Regions from separate parts of the Homo sapiens genome. Here region 1 is linked to region 2. Evidence: promoter capture Hi-C in 16 types of primary human blood cells and fetal thymus (Javierre and others, 2016). All regions are on one chromosome and are shown on one strand. The core of a region is centred on a gene start or on the middle of the fragment in contact, and the rest is flanking DNA. Distances in the headings are between cores, read along the strand shown.

Evidence for each region. Contacts are between HindIII fragments. The CHiCAGO score rates a contact against its expected background, and 5 or more counts as called.
Region 1: a contact is called between a fragment that was not itself captured here and the fragment with the promoter of SLC25A53 in region 2, in 1 of 17 cell types (total B cells). The highest score is 8.1, in total B cells.

The regions. Positions count from the first base shown.
Region 1 is chrX:108,096,581-108,100,105 of GRCh38, forward strand. The region is part of intron 1 of ATG4A (autophagy related 4A cysteine peptidase); the gene reads left to right. Among named protein-coding and RNA genes, the nearest start is that of ATG4A, 6.6 kb to the left of the region's middle. The HindIII fragment of the contact is 8,346 bases long and covers 1-3,525 here.
Region 2 is chrX:104,154,985-104,158,344 of GRCh38, forward strand. SLC25A53 (solute carrier family 25 member 53) reads right to left here and starts at 2,025. Exons shown (of 2, transcript NM_001012755.5): 1 at 1,894-2,025. It also overlaps a transcript of FAM199X not described here. RefSeq lists an enhancer at 1,799-2,098. The HindIII fragment of the contact is 6,927 bases long and covers 1-2,235 here.

The DNA of each region.
Region 1 (3,525 bases), core at 528-3,027, 3.9 Mb after region 2:
AAACAATTCCAAGTGCCTTTCCTACTGAGTGACTTGTTTGGGTAGTCTTCTTTTATAAACAGTATATTTTATTTTATTTTATTTTATTATTTTATTTTATTTTATTGTATGTTATGTTATGTTATGTTATGTTATTTATGTGACATGGTAATTAACTTTCAATTCTGAGTCCTTTAAGGCTAAGGGGAAGTTATCCTTTGACTTTTTGAAAGCTGCAAGATAAATAGGTCTTAGAGGAGAAGGTCTCTTCTCTTTTGTGGCTGGCCCCAAGTTATGGAGGAATGATGTGGTTGCTGTTTATGTCCATTAAGAGACAAATGGGGCCCTGTTAGGGTCTGACTCCCTTTCTGCTCTTATGATTGAACGTTCCCTATTGCCTTTTCCACTGATCACCTGGATTCTAGATACTAAAACAAGCTAAGTTCATCTTCTAGGCTTGAAGAATAATGCCAATAATAACTAGCATTTATAGATGACATTGTCAGTTACTGAGCTTATCTTATGCAATCCTCACATCAGCTCTGTGAGGTAGGTACTATTATCCTGCAGCTCCTACCTTTTTTAAAATGAGAAAACAGGCACAGAGGAGAGAAGTTACATGCCCAAGGTCACACAGTTTAGTTGGAGCTATAATAGAAATCCAGGCAATTCTACTCCAAAGTCCTACTACTTAACCACTGCAACATGCTGCTAAATATTGCTGAAAATGGAATTATGTGTAAATGATAATCCTAAATATTGCAATACAAAATGCTGTCAGAGTTCTTTGGGTTGTAACTCTACCTGTGATTTTGGTGAAATGACAAGATTTTAATGCTCTAGAGCAGTGCTGTCCAGTAGAACTTTCTGTGATGATGGTAAACTTCTATATCTACGCTGTTCTAGTATGGTAACCATAACCACATGTAGCTCTTAAAGACTTGCAATGTGTCTAGGAACTGAATTTTTAATGTCATTTAATTGTAATTGTTTTACATGTAAATAGTTTTGTGTGACTCATTATTAATCATCTTGGACAGTGCAGAGAGAGATCATTTCCCCCCACTTGTTCCTTTTTAATTACACTAAATATTTTACCCAATGCAAATATTCTTTCCATAGCACAACAGGAAGTGAATATATTCTATACTGAAAAACAACTTGAGGGTATACGCAAATCAATTAACTGCATGACAGTTGCAGGAACAGGTTCTGGGTTATCCACCATGAAACTTCTCCATTCCCAGCACTTACTAAATAAGGTTCCATAACTGGCTCAAAAACCTTTTGCAATTGATTTTTCACTGCTTACAAATGTAATTTATGTGGCTTATTGCACTTTACAGTTGCCAGTTGCTTGGTTTAAGATGAGACATCTTAATCTGTGGCTCTAATTTTTTTTTATATACAAGTTTTTTTATATAAAAGTTCTGGGGTACATGTGCACAACGTGCAGGTTTGTTACATAGGTATACATGTGCCATGTGGGTTTGCTGCACCCATCAACTCGTCATTTACATTAGGTATTTCTCCTAATGCTATCCCTCCCCCAGGCCTTCGCCCCCTGACAGGCCCTGGTGTGTGCTGTGGCTCTAATTTTTTTTAATCCCGTGTTTTGATCCCACATGTTAAATGTCCTTGGTGTTATATGTCACTGGGCTATACAAACCTTCCCCATTTAAAAGCGATTCCTTCACAAAACTGGCAAACTGTTACAGGCTGTTATAATAAAGCACTTTATATTTACTCCCTGAGTTTTAGCTTCCACACTCTTGTTTTAAGTTGTTTGCTTTATAAGTGGTTTCTTTTTTTAAAAGGGTTTTATTATGAATAAGAGACTCGCAATAATTTGCAAAGATAGTACAGAAAGGCCCCATATAATCTTCATCTGAGTTACTTCAATCATTGCATTTTACATAATTATAATACAATATCAAAACCAGGAAATTGATACTGGAATGATACGTGTGTATAATTCTATGTTATTTTATGATGTGTAGATTTGTTTAACCATTATCGCAATCAAGAAATATTCCATCTCTCCTGTGCTACCTCTTTATAGTCACACCCACCACCTACCCCCACCATTGATAACCCCTGAAAAATACTAATTTGTTCTCCTTTTCTATAACTGTCATTTTAAGAATTTTATATATAATTAAAATGATTTAATTTTTAGAATCATAAAGTATGTGACCTTTTCCACTATTTTTCACTCAGCATAATACATTTGAGACTCATTCAAATTGGTATCAATAGTTCATTCCCTCTTATTGCTGAGAAATATTACACGACATGGAGGTACCACAGTTTTTTTAACCATTCATCTATTAAGGGACATTTTTAAATGTCCAGTTTTTGGCTATTACGAAGAGAACTCTTATTAACATTGAGTACAGTGTTTTGTGTAGATGGAAATTTTCATCTCTCTGAGATAAATGCCCAGGAGAGCAATTACAAGGTGGGACGGTAAATATATGTTTAATTTTAAAAGAATCTGACAAACTAGTTTTCCAAAGTGACTGTACCATTTTGTATTCTCACCAGCAATGGTATGAGAGATCCAGTATCTCCACATCCTTTCCAGCATTTGGTATTCTCACTATTTTTTTTTTAAGTTTTAGCCATTGTGATAAGTGTGTAGTGATATATTACTGATTTAATTTGCATTTATCTGATGGCTAATAAAGTTCAACATCTTTTCATGTGTTTATTTGTCATCCCCATATCTTCTTCATTTAAATATCTCTTTATATCTTTGGCCCATTTTCTAATTGTATTGTATTGTTTGTTTTACTGTTGAGTTTTCAGAGTGCTTTATGTATTCTAGATACCAGTTCTTTGTCAGATATGTAGCTTGCAAATATTCTCTTCCAGTCTGTGGCTTGTCTTTTCATCTTAATAGGATTTTCCACAGAGAAAGAGCTTTTAATTTTGATGACATTCAACTTATTGATTTTTTTCCCTATTATAGATTGTGCTTTTGTTGTTACATCTAAGAAGTCTTCACCAAGTCGTAGGTCTCAAATATTTTCTCCTAGATTTTCTTCTGAAAATGTTATAGTTTTACATTTTACATTCAAGTCCATGATCCATTTTAAGTTAATATTTGGCATAAAATGTGAAGTTTAGGTCAAGGTTAATTTTTTTGGATTATTGATATCTAGTTACTTCAGCTCCATTGAATTGCTTTTGCACTGTTGTAAAATATAAGTATGCCGTACTTGTGTATATCTATTTCTGAGTTTTCTAATCTGATTCATTGATCTACGTATGTGTCCCTCTGCCATACCACACAGTGTTGAATACTGTAGCTCTATAATAAATCTTAAAATTTGATAGAGTGATTCCTCCTAGTTTATTGTTTTCAATATTGCCTGTTCCTTTAACTTTCCCTATAAATTTTAGAATAAACTTGCCTATATCTGAAAAAAGTTAGCTGAGATATTGATAGGAATTGTATTAGACCTGTGTATCAGTTTGGGGAAAACTGACATCTTTACTATGCTGAGTCTTCCAATCCATGAGCACCATATGTCTCTCCCT
Region 2 (3,360 bases), core at 775-3,274:
CTTTGAACTCTATAAATGTATACAATTTGTAAATATACAATAAAATTATACAAATATAAAAATAAAAAGATTTTCTAAGCAGTGTCAAATAAGTCCATTTTATTTCATATCTACTGTGTCTGAATTCAGACATGCCTGACGTTTAGGAGTGTGCCTAGCCTTCCCTAGGGGAGATATTCTTTTTTTTTTTTTGAGACAGAGTCTCACTCTGTTGCCCAGGCTGGAGTGCAGTGGCGCAATCTTGGCTCACTGCAACCTCTGCCTCCCGGGTTCTAAGAGATTCCAGGAGATATTCTTTCCAATTTATTGTCAGCTCCGTTTAGACCTATAGTTCTCCAAGTATGGCCCCATGTCCAGGAGTATCAGCATCTCCTGGGAACTAGTTAGAAATGTAAATTCGGGGGTCCACTCCTGACCAACTGTAGGGGCAACTCTGTGGATGGGACCTAGCAATCTTGGTTTTAAGAAACGCTCCATCTGATTCTGATTCACAGGAAAGTTTGAGAGCCACTGACTTAGACTGCTATACTGTTGTTTCTCTGGTAAACAAAGAGGCTTCTTTTCTTGTTCAGAGAAATATTGCTTAGGATTTCTGGTGGGTGCACAATTCCCTGCTGTGAACCGAGTTTGCTGGAAAACCAAGTAACTAGCACCTCCATCGTAGTCCTACCCAGAGCTTGCAGGCTTTGCACTCACGTAAGACTGATTCTTCCAGAGGCGCCTGGAAGTCCCATTGTGATGGGCAAATGCTCTTACCAGAAATAAACTAGTTGTGGGGACCGGGCGCGGTGGCTCATGCCTGTAATACCAGCACTTTGGGAGGCCGAGGCAGGCGGATCACTTGAGGTCAGGAGTTCGAGGCCAACCTGGCCAACATGGTAAAACCCCGTCTCTACTAAAAATATAAAAATATAAAAATTAGCCGGGAGTGGTGGTGGGTGCCTCTAATCCCAGCAACCCGGGAGGCTGAGGCAGGAGAATCACTTGAACCCGGCAGACGGAGGTTGCAGTGAGCGGAGATCACGCCACTGCATTCCAGCCTGGGCGACAGAAGTAGAGAGACTCCTTATCAAAAAAAAAAAAAAGAAAGAAAGAAAGAAAAAAAAAAAGAAATACACTAATTTTGGGCCTTAAATGCTACTCAGTTCTCCAGTTCACCTCAACAGGGAGGGAAGGTGCTTGGAGGAAAATTGCACTTCGTTTTTGCCCTGCTTATTTTGTCTTCAAAATATATGTTAAATCACCGCATCAAAGAGCCGTCCCAGATCTCAACTCCCAGATGAGTTCGGTGGCACCCAATAGATTTTCATAACACAGGATCTATCTCTGTCTCCTTGTATTGTAATAGCCTGTCTCCAAATGCAGATAGCAACCGGCAGGCTGTAAATGTCGAGGAAAAAGCCTAATTCCTTTCCTCATCCGGAGCCTCTAGTGCAGTACCCAGCACAGAGCAGGTACTTGGTATTTTGGTAAGGGAAATCAATCAACGCATCAATAGCAGAATCTGAAACCAGGGACCTAGATCTTTCCAATAAAATCATCCTGCTGAGATGTGACTCAGATGTACTGGTGCCCAGCAGACAACACGTTTTCGCCCTGATTTTATCCTCCATTCATCCGTCCGCCCCCTCCCCCATAGACCCCGCCTGTCCCCAGCTAAAAATAATGAGGGGATTCACACATCTCAGTGTCAACACACACAACACAGTTGACACGCCCCTTAATCCTACAGCTACGCCATCAATTCTCGCCGCCGGGTCCGTCCGCTTGTCAGTTTCCCCTACTCCTCATCCCCTCGCAACTTCTGATCCCCTATCACTTCCGTTCCCGTTTGCCTGCTAGGCTGGAAGCAGGATGTGTCTACGCCCTCAGCCCATAAGAAGTGCTACAAACCTCCGCCTCGCTCGCTGTCATGGCGGCGACCGACGGCCCCTTTCCTGTGGCCTCAGAAAGCAGCGACAGTCGCAGTCACCGGACCTTCGCCCATCCGCCGCCCTCACTTAAGCGACGCACAACGGAGCTCCCACAATCCTCTTTGCTTCCGCTCTCTTTATTTCCGCCTCCCCCGCCCCCGCCTCGACATTAACCGTTTCGCGACTACGTCAGTTGGCCGGTCTGTTTGGGAGAGCCAGGCGACTAATCTGGTATAGAGACCGAAAAACACAGGTAAAAAGACCTAAAAGACTTAGTCATCTATTGGAACATTTCCCCAGTTTGTTTGTAAGTTGGCTTGCAAGCTTATCAGTCATTCTCAAACAGGAGCTTAACTTACTTAGGTGAACAGTTCATGATGACGCCTTTAAGCTGCTAGACCAACCCAAACTCCGAATTTGCAGTTTCTGACCTTTCACCTTGAACCTGTGCCCTTTCTACCCTCTATTCTCCATCTCCTTTTGGTTCTTGTCTGACTCTTTAGCTGCATATGTAAAGAGCACAGACTTTGAAACCTGAGCTCCCGCGTTCGAATCCCCACTGTACCACTATCTAAACATGGCATCTTGGGCAAGTGATTCAAGCATGCTATTCCTTGGCTTTTTCATCTGTAGAATTGGTATAATAATAGTACTTACCTCCAGAGTTGCAGTAAAAATATTAAAATTTCACATGTGAGGAGCACCTAGAACATTGCCTATCATGAAGTTAAGCAGTATATTGAAATATAAATTATAATGATTGAATTTGATCTCACCTAAGACCTCTGGCTAATAAATAATAAATGATAATAATCATTTCACCTGGGATAGAGGGGATTGCCCTGTTCTCTCCAGGCTGAGGCTGTAATACCTGATTCTAGGGACTGCTGATATGGAAATTACTACCACTCTGGCTGGAGTCAGAAGAGTATATTAAAGAGTCTCTTTGTACTGTCCTAAAATAAGCAAAATCCAACGTTTGCAGTTCTATGGACCACGCACTATGATAAGTGCTTTAAACCCATTTTGTTGTTATTGCTTCATCCTCACAATAGCCCTTTGCTGGTTCTTAAGTGTATTACCCTTTCCTGTCCTCTTTGTCTGCTTAAAGCAGCTAAGAAAACTCAGATTAGTCAGATTGCATATAAATCAATAACTTGCCCACGGTCACAGAGCTAATAACAAATAGAGCCAAGACTTAAACTCAGATACATTCAGATGTGTCTTGGTATTTCTCAAATATCACTGAGAAAAAGGCCACCATAAATTCTTTTCAAGTGCTCTCTCTCCCCCAACTCCCCACCCCAAGAATTGCCTGAATGCCCATACAGAAAGACTAGGTTCTCTTCAGAAGCAGAAGGGCAGAACCCACTAAGGCAAAGATCTCTCCCTTGAAGGCTGGCAGCCAAGGAGGTGACTATAGTAGGAATTGGCATAACCAGCTCAC